2 separate regions of the Homo sapiens genome follow, and region 2 is linked to region 1. Evidence: promoter capture Hi-C in human tissues and cell types (Jung and others, 2019). All regions are on one chromosome and are shown on one strand. Each heading gives the region's core, a stretch centred on a gene start or on the middle of the fragment in contact. The rest is flanking DNA. Distances are from core to core; before and after follow the strand shown.

Evidence for each region. The method cuts DNA at HindIII sites, captures the fragments that hold promoters and counts their contacts. A contact is called where the count stands out against the background at its distance.
Region 2: a contact is called between a fragment that was not itself captured here and the fragment with the promoter of C1GALT1C1 in region 1, in 1 of the 25 tissues and cell types used here (pancreas).

The regions. Positions count from the first base shown.
Region 1 is chrX:120,627,509-120,632,588 of GRCh38, forward strand. C1GALT1C1 (C1GALT1 specific chaperone 1) reads right to left here and starts at 2,546. Exons shown (of 2, transcript NM_001011551.3): 1 at 2,409-2,546. RefSeq lists an enhancer at 1,927-2,854 and a silencer at 2,514-2,783. The HindIII fragment of the contact is 19,007 bases long and covers 1-5,080 here.
Region 2 is chrX:120,313,931-120,319,010 of GRCh38, forward strand. No RefSeq gene overlaps it. Among named protein-coding and RNA genes, the nearest start is that of TMEM255A, 5.0 kb to the left of the region's middle. The HindIII fragment of the contact is 6,105 bases long and covers 1-5,080 here.

The sequences.
Region 1 (5,080 bases), core at 1,296-3,795:
AAGCTTGCATTATTTAAATACCTCTAAAAATATAGTGAACTTTTACACCAAAACCTTGGGTTGAACAGATAAAACCACCTATAAATGGCAAATCACCAATGGTATTGTGCTGACATTTCTGTTCTCAACATAGTGCTTTCTTTAACTGATGGCTGCTGTCCTTAAGTGTTTTGAGTAAATCTAAACCAAGTTTCTTGAGAATAACACCATATAGGTTAATATTTACCCTTTTGTTCCTAAAACTAAATGGTTTCCAATACAGTATCCCAACTATTGATGTAATAGAAGCCCATAATAAAAAGTTACATCTTTTGGATCAAAAAGGAATATTGATAGATATATCTGGGGCCCATTAATAAACATTTTCATTTCCTCAAAAGGAATTTTCTTCTTCTTTGGGGAAGTAAAAATGGAAAAATTTACACTTTTATTTCAATTAGAAATTAAGAGGCAGGTGCAGTGGCTCATGGCTGTTATCTCAGCACTTTGGGAGGCTGAGGTGGGTGGATCCCTTGAGTTCAGGAGTTCGAGACCAGCCTGGGCAACATGGTGAAACCTTGTCTCTACCCAAAATCCAAAAAATTAGCCAGACGTGGTGGTGGGTGCCTGTAATCCCAGCTACTCGGGAGGCTGAGGCACAAGAGTCTCTTGAACTTGGGAAGCGGAGGCTGTAGTGAGCTGTGATCTCACCACGGCACTCCAGCCAGGGCATCAGAGTGAGACTCTGTCTCAGAAAAAATAAATAAATAAAAGAAATTAAAAGCTGACATTAAATAAACTTGTTGAAAAAAATTGTATGTTAACCATTTATTCTAGTAAAGGCTGAATTTTCCAATCTTCCCTCCATCTTCAGAAAAAAGCAATCTATTGAGCTACTTAGACTTCCCAGTTTTCTCTTATGGTTGAAAGGAGCCTTAGAAAACTACCCAATGTCAGTCACTTCTCTCATTTTACAGAGAGGAAATGGAAGTCCACAGAGGTTAAATAACTGACTCAGTCACACAGTTAGACAGTGGTATAAGTGGACTAGAAACCACATTTCTCAATATCAGTTTAATGGTTTTTTTCCATTACAGAAGAATAATTGCCATAGTGCTTCTACCACATTAGAGTTTAATAAATGGGTTACTGAATATCCTTGTTTTCATACAAATGGGAAAAAAGTGGGATCTGTTGACCATAACTGATATTTTGCACCCAACAGCACCATATTGCTACAAGGAAACCACTCCTGTGGTTTTCTGCTAGAGGAAATGGAATTTTGACTTCTACCAGAAAGACAAGGTGTGGAATAGCTTGGCAGATGTAATTTCTGAGCGGTGGGTGGGGCAAGAGGCAGGAAGACTTTCCTGTGTCACTCACAGAACTTGGTCAATAAACACAGTTCCAAGAAGAGAAGTGACAGAAAACAAGCTCGGCATAATATTAGAATTGTCGGCTGTGTGCGGTGGCTCACGCCTGTAATCCCAGCACTTTGGGAGGCCGAGGCAGGTGGATCACCTGAGGTAGGGAGTTCAAGACCAGCCTGGCCAACATGGTGAGACCCTGTCTCGACTAAAAATACAAAAATTAGCCGGGCATGGTGGCATATGACTGTAATCCCAGCTACTCAGGAGGCTGAGGCAGGAGAATTGCTTGAACCCGGGAGGCGGAGGTTGCAGGCAGTGAGCCAAGATCGCACCACAGCACTCCGGCCTGGGCAACAAGAGCGAGACTCTGTTTCAAAAAAAAAAAAGAAAGAAAGAAAGAAAAAAGAAAAAGAATTGTCAGGTGCACTCTAAGATTAATTTATATAGGATTTTTGTATTTCATGTCACGCAGTTTTCATTATTTCTGGCCAATACATAATTCACATGTTTCTTTGCTCAATTATGGCATATGTGTCAGAATTCTTCCTGATGGTGATCCTACTCCTGGCTGCAAAAATAGTGATCAAAACTCAGTAAGTCTACACATTTTAAATAAAATAATTTGCAAAAATTATTCTAAGGAGATTTTTTCCCCATCACAGAGGCAAAAAATATAACACTAGGGATGCATATGATAGGATACTTTGTGCAGAAGGAAACAAAACTGCACACGAGCACAAATGAAACAGAAACTACCCCAATGGTTTTTAGATGAACCTTTTTGGGTGAAGGTAGTTGGGGTGAAGTACGGAAAACGAAGACGAAATAGGGAAGAGAAGTGAGAGGGAGGACATGGTAACCTCGATATCCCTCTGAGGGACCAAGAGAGCGCCCCCAGGAAGAAGACTCTCGGTCTCCTGTGCTGACAATCCTCCCGCTGCACCTGCCCAAGCATCCCGCGTGGAGCATGCTGGGAGAGGGCTGGGGCCCAGGCCTCCCCCAAGAGAGGGAGGGGAGTCAGGGTGCGCTTGGGGTGGGGGTCGAGGCCCCGCCACTCACCCGCGTCTAGAACGGCTTGGGGACAGGAAAGCGCAGCCGCGCACGGGTTTCCTCTCACGTTGGCGCACCACTCCGTTACGCTCCTGACCAGGCTGTTCTAGCTGCAGGCGGTGTTCTCTCGTTGGTCTCGCTAAAGGTGGGGAGCGCCAGGAAACGAGCGCCGCGAAGGCGGGGGTAGTGGGGCGGGGTAAAGGAGCCGGCGGCTGGGCGGAGCCGTCCGTTTGCCCGCCCGCGCAGGCGTCGGAAGGGCCGGCGCGCCCGCTGCGCGCACACTGCGTGCCCTTTCTCCCCGCCCCCTGCCGAGTTCAGAGACTTGCTATAGGCCTGCGTGACCCGGACGCTCTCCTTTACCCAACGGGCGTCCAGAGAAGAGGCCGTGCGTACGACTCGCTGACACCTCCCATTTCACCTTCCTGGCATGGAAATTGCGAGAGCGAGAGATTCTTGCTCCCGGTGTCGCTTTTTATCAGACCTCTTGATGGTTTCTCTGATGTACCCCTGCGTCCTTGAACCCTCATATTGCCCACCCCCCCAGTACTCCTGGGCTGAGACCAAAACGCAAGCCACTGAAATAGTCACGTAATTATGACACCAACGGTTTCCTATTATTACTGGAATGAGATCTGAAGCCCCACTGCCTGGAATCCAATCCTGTCTTCACCACACCTTTTGATATCCCAGGAAAGTTATTTCACCTCGCTGTGCCTCAGTTCCCTCATTTGTAAAGTACAGAAAATGTCACAGTAGTGCCTATTTCATAGAAAATTAGATGAGATAGTGCATATGACTCCCTTAGCAAAATTTCAAGCCTAGAGTAAGCATTTACTAAAAAGTACTGGCTGTTATTATTCACCCCAGTATTTCTAGTACTTAACCACAGTGCCAGCACGCAGTGGACAGTAAATATTAGTGGAATTAATGAATATTAGAACTACAGCTGAGGAACCAGGCCTAAAAAGGATAAGGAAATTTCAAAAGTCCACACAGCAAGTTAATGGCAGAGGTGGGACTGGAATCCAGGTCTCTTTTTTTTTTTTTTTTGAGACGGAGTTTCACTCTTGTTGCCCAGGCTGGAGTGCAATGGCACGATCTCGGCTCACTGCAACCTCTGCCTCCCGGGTTCAAGCGATTCTTCTACCTCAGCCTCCCTAGCAGCTGGGATTACAGACGCCCGCCACCACGCCCGGCTAATTTTTGTATTATTAGTAGAGACGGGGTTGGCCAGGCTGGTCTTGAATTCCTGACCTCAGGTGATCCACCCGCCTCGGCCTCCCAAAGTGCTGGGATTACAGGCTTGAGCCACTGCGCACGGCCCCCAGGTCTTCTAATTAAGAGTGCAGAGCTCTCTTTCCACGAAATATTTGATGTGTCTCTTTTTTTTTTTTTTTTTTTTGAGACCGAGTTTCGTTCTTTTTGCCCAGGCTGGAGTGCAATGGCGGGATCTCGGTTCACTGCAGCCTCTGCCTCCCGGGTTCAAGTGATTCTCCTGCCTCAGCCTCCCTAGTGGCTAGGATTACAGGTGTGCGCCACCACGTCTGGTTATTATTATTTTTTTTTTTAGTAGAGACGGGGTTTCGCCGTGTTGGCCAGGCTGGTCTCGAACTCCTGACCTCAGGTGTTCCACCCGCCTCGGCCTTCCACAGTGCTGGGATTACAGGTGTGAGCCACCGATCTGTCTTTTAAAATTCATTTTTGGCCAGGCGCAGTGGCTCACGCCTGTAATCCCAAAACTGTGGGAGGCCGAGGCAGGTGGATCACCTGAGGTCAGGAGATCAAGACCATCCTGGCTAACACGGTGAAACCCTGTCTCTACTAAAAATACAAAAAATTAGCCGGGCGCGGTGGCATGCGCCTGTAGTCCCAGCTACTCGGGAGGCTGAGGCAGGAGAATGCCGTGAACCCGGGAGGCGGAGCTTGCAGTGAGCCGAGATAGCGCCACTGCAGTCTGGCCTGGGCGAAAGAGCGAGACTCCGAGGCGGGCGGATCACGAGGTCAGGAGATCGAGACCATCCTGGCTAACACAGTGAAACCCCGTCTCTACTAAAAATACAAAAAATTAGCCGGGCGAGGTGGCGGGCGCCTGTAGTCCCAGCTACTCGGGAGGCTGAGGCAGGAGAATGGCGTGAACCCCGGGGCAGAGCCTGCAGTGAGCCCAGATAGCGCCACTGCACTCCAGCCTGGGCGACAGAACGAGACTCCATCTCAAAAAAAAAAAATAAAATAAAATAAAATAAAATAAAATAAAATAAAATAAAAATTAGTCGGGCGTGGTGGCTCATGCTTGTAATCCCAGCTACTCGGGAGGCTGAGGCAGAAGAATTGCTTGAACCTGGGAGGTGGAGGTTGCAGTGAGCCGAGATCGTGCCACTGCACTCCAGCCTGGGAGAGTGAGCAAGACTCCATCTCAAAAAAAAAAAAAAAATTCATTTTTGTGGCAGAAGGCTTTTTGCTAAAAAGCCCAAATTTTTACAATTATTTAAAGTGTATTGTTACTAGGTTCCATTAAGATAAAATTGAGTGGTGACTTACTCGGGCCTGAGTTCCTAAAGACACACATGTATTTGAGTGTTGTCAGTGACCTAGTTTAAGTAGACTGAAGGTTTCAGGGAACTCTGAAACAATGAACAAATATATTGTAGGTAGTTACTATCCTGGCAACACTATCTTAAAAT
Region 2 (5,080 bases), core at 1,609-4,108, 310 kb before region 1:
AGCACAGCACGCACTCAGTCAAGTTAAAAATGACTTTGAGACCAGTAGCAGTGACAATAGCAGCAGCTGCAGCAGCTTGGAGAGTAGTAGCAGTCTTCTCCCCAGAGATGGTGTATTTGTCTGGAGAGAGGATCGGGAAAAGGGGAGGGACTAGAATGGGAACTGGGGGGAAAACCCCCTACATTTTAACTAAGCCCAGTACATACACCTCTTTTCCTCCAAAAAAAAGTTTATTTTAACTCAAATTGAACAGGATGATTAAAAAGCAAGAGGCAATGTTTCCTGGGCTCCATTCTGATTTTCTTCATGTCAAAACACATGTGGAGTTTATACATAAATAGGTTTATAATAAAACTTACCAATAGGCAAGCCATCTAGATGAAGAAACAGGTCTTTCATGCAAGTGAAGGCTACTATAAAACTGCTTGGTTAGCTTTTGATAAAAAAAAGAAATTATTAAAATGCCTTAAAATAAATCCTTTTCATAGCAAGCTTAATCAAGCATACAGTGTTGCCCTAGGTTGCAAACTGCTTTATAGCATCAGGAAATGTTTACCAATGGGGCTGCAGCCTACTTCTCTCCATCTTCTTCAAACCAGTGATGAGCGCCCTCCCCAGAAGCCTTCAGACCAGTAGAAAAATGCCAGATGGTGCTCTGTGTCTAACACATTCTCCCTGGGAAGAGCCATAGCATTCAATTATCTCCTTATTTTGCTGACCAATTTGACTATTTAAATTACATAGTATACCTTCCTGATTCCAATTCTGGGAATGTGGGCTAGAGAAATGTCTACATGTTTACACACACATACATGCATACATGCATATTTAAAATGGTGGCCATACAGGTATTCACAAGTGCACATACTTATAGACATCCCAGCTAGTATCTCTACGCTCTGGTTATCACCATCCAACTCTCGTTTTCCAGACTTTGGTTGATCAAGGACAGAGAGAAGCTTCAGAATAATGGAGAGCCTCAAAGAGTCCAAACATTCCTAACTGAGGTTGGGGTGTGCCCACCAGACTACCTTAGGTCAATGCCTAGTACTCAGTGCCTGCACCACAAACATGTGAATCTTGATTGAGGAAAACCATAGTTAAGGGTGTTGCCTGATTCTCATTGCCAGCTGGTCTTTTTCTTTGGGTACCAGGAAAATAACCATAGCACCAGGGAACAGTGTTGGTACTTGTCTTTACTTTGTTATTGATTTATTTCTATTTTGTAACCTGTGTTAGTTACCAAACGCTATATAATAAATGTTTTCCAATATCAGTAAAGAAAAAACCTTTGATAATATGATTTAAAATGAATGGAACATAATTTATTTACCATTTCACTGTTATTGAATATTTTAGAGATTGCCAGTTTTTTAACATTGTAAATAATGCAATGAACTAAACCTTTGCATCTTTTTCACCGTAGGATACAATACTATCATGGAATTATTGGTTCAAACGTTCCAAACACATACTTTTAATTAAACTTTTTTTATCAACACACATGTAATAAAATGTACAGACCAATGTATTTTAACACACACACACACACACACACACACACACACACACACTTGTAAACCACCACCCAGATTAAGATATTGAACCTAACATCCCAGATGGCTCTCTTGAGCCCCCTCCCCAGTCAATAACCCTCCCAGAGGTAACCACTATTCTGATTTTTATCAAGTCAGAATATTTTTAAGGCTTTGAAAATGTATTGCCAAATTGCCCTCCCAAATATTTGTAGCAAAGTACATACCCACCATCAGCATCTGAAAGTGTCTGGGTTCCCATGACCTCTTGATTTTACCTTGAAAAGGAGATGTTTAACACTGAAGACACACCTAATTGCAGTCAGCTACGGGAAGGGCCAGTCAAGAAGCTGAAGTTCAGTTGGGCACAAGGCATCCAGTGGGAACCACAGATCTAGGAGGCAGAGGGCGAGGGCAGTGCCAGGGCAGACAACACTGTCACAGCCCACAAGTACAGTCATGTGCCACATAATGATGTTTTGGTCAACAATGGAATGCAGATATGAAGGTGTTCCCATAACATTATAATGGAGCTGAAAAACTCCTATCACCTAGTGACATCATAGTGCAATGTGTTACTCACGAGTTTGTGGTGATGCTGGTGTAAATAAGCTCACTGTGCTGACAATCACGTGAAAGTGTAGCATATACAATTAGGTACAATCCATAATACTTGATAATGATAATAAATGACTATGTTACTGGTTTATGTATTTCCTATACTATACACTTTATCATTATTATAGAGTGTACTCCTTCTACTTAAATATTTTTTAAAAGTTAACTGTAAAACAGCCTCATGTAGGTCCTTTGGGAGGTATTGCAGAAGAAGGCATTGTTGTCATAAAAGATGACAGCTCCATGTGTGTTATTGCTCCTGAAGACCTTCCAGTGGAACAAGACGTGGAGGTAGAAGACAGTGATATTGATGATCCTGACCCTGTGTAGGCATAGGCTAATGTGTGTGTGTTTTGTCTTTGTTCTTAACAAAAAATTTAGAAAAGTAAAGAAAAAAGTTAGAATAGAAAAAGCATGTGGAATAAGGATGTAAAGAAAGAAAATATTTTGTACAGCTGTACGGTGTGTGTTTAAGAGTGTTATTACAAGGGTCAAAAGTTAAAAAAAAGTTTATAATGTACAAGTTACAGTAAGCTAAGGTTAATTTATTGAAGAAAGAATAATCTTTTAAAATAAATGTAGTGCAGCCTAAGTGTACAGTGTTTATAAAGTGTATAGTAGTGTACAGTAATGTCCTAGGCTTTCACATTCCTTCATAATAGGACACAATACTACCATGATTGTATTGAGTCACTCAGTGACTCACCCAGAGGAACTTCCAGTTCTGCAGGCTCCATTCATGGTAAGTGCTCTATACAGGTGTACCATTTTTTATCCTTTATACTGCATTTGTACTGTACCTTTTCTATGTTTAACTATGTTTAGATACACAAATACTGACCATTGTATTACAACAGTATTCAGTACAGTCACATGCTGTACACATTTGTAGTCTAGGTGAGATAGCATATGCCTTATAGCCTAGCTGTGTAGTAGGATATACTATCTAGGTTTTGCCTAATAGCCTAGCTATGCAGTAGGATATACTATCTAGATTTGTGTGAGTACACTCTATGATGTTTGCACAAGGACGAAATCACCTAACGACGCATTCCTCAGAAGGTGTTCCTGTCAATAAGCGATGCATGACTATACCTTAGAAAATTCCAACTGCTCAGGTGTTTTCATTGTCATATTCATTATTGTTCTCTGGTGCAAATACTCAAAGTCTTTCTTATATTTAGCCTTTACAGTTTCGATGATGATCACTTAATTACGTCTGGTACATAGTTGGCATTTCAATACTTGTTGAACATGTTTTACTTATTTTTATCTATTGCTTTATTCTACCTACTAAATAAGACACAACACGGTAAAAGTTCCCAAAACTGCAGAGGTGCTTGATGCAGCAAATTACTCCTGCTCCACAATTCTACTCTCCACAGATAAAAATGCTTTACGGGTTTGAATGCATTATTCCACATTTTTTCTCCATGCATAGTTTTACCTTTGTTTGTTTATTTTGAGAGTTAAATACTCTAAAAAGTATTTTAAAAGTAAACTTGCTAAATAATGAAATAATAAATATTTTTATTAAGGCTTGTAAGTTGCATTTAATAGCTTTCAGATACACCACATCAAAGTCCATCTTCAATCAATCAAACCCAATGGTAGTTCCTTCTTGCATAATAAAATTCCCTCCAACTTACATTATGATACCCACTTAGCTATAATGGGCAGGGAAAGGAAACTACATCTCCTTTCTGATCACTATTGTGTAAGGAAGAGCATCAGGAGAATTACATAAAAATGAATATAAAGAAATGATTCTGATTTCAAAGTACATTGTTTGGAAGCATTAACAAAAACAAAAATGATTCAGGTATACATACTTCTACTGAATTTTTGATAGGAAAGTTAGTTCTGAAAACAGTCCATTTCCTACTACAGAAAGGAGATAGTTTATTTTTAAGGTTAGTCTTTGTTTTCCACAGAATTTCACATCTTCCTAATTTGAAGGCATAAAACAGCAACAGAGAACCATAATGCATGAATCAATGAATACACTAGGGACATGGTGATGTTTAAGAAGGCTAGGTAACTTTTTTTGAATTTCAGAATAAATGTAACAGAGGTTAATAACCACAAATGTTAAGGTTAGAGTGAGATCAGTCTATGAGAAGCATAATTAACATTTTATACTGCAAACTATTTACTACTGAAGGAAAACATCTACACAGAAAAATTCACCATATGTATTACTTTTAAATCGGGGGAAAGGGAGAGGAGATGAGTAGCTTTAAGCCCACAGGAACTGGGTTGGGGATCTTTTGGGGAACCTCACTGTTTAGATGCTATGATTTACCTGCCAGAGATAACAGTTGGTAGGGATAGTAGAATGGGATTCAGTTAAGCTGTTTCCTTCCTTTAATTAATGACAGAGCTCAGTATATCCTTCTCCCTTATCCCCATCAAAAAACATTCATTAAACACCTAATTAGATGTGACATTGTTGAAAGCGGGGGTGCATGTGTCCAGCTGCTTGGTTCAGGCTTGCACTGAAGAGGATTTCTGTGTTCAGTGGTTCTTAGGAATCAATAAATTTGCTACCAGTTCAAACTGCTCCACAGAGCCTTTAAAAATGTTTACACTCTGTGACCCAGTAATCCCACTTCTGGGAATCAGTCCTAAGGAAAGAGAAATCTGGACTAAGATTTACGTGCAACAATGTCCGTGGCAATGTTATTCGTAAGTTAAAAAAAACCCTGAAATGACAAAAATTAGGAGAACGATTAGCTAGATGATACCACAACCAAATGATTCCATATGTTATATAGCTATTAAAATTGTATTTCAAATATTTAAGAACACAGAAATATATACAATAATGAGTGCAAAAGTAGGCTAAGCACTGCATGTATAGTTTGATCCCATTTTGTTTAAAATTGTACATATATACAGAGAAAAATGACTAGAAAGAAACTCAA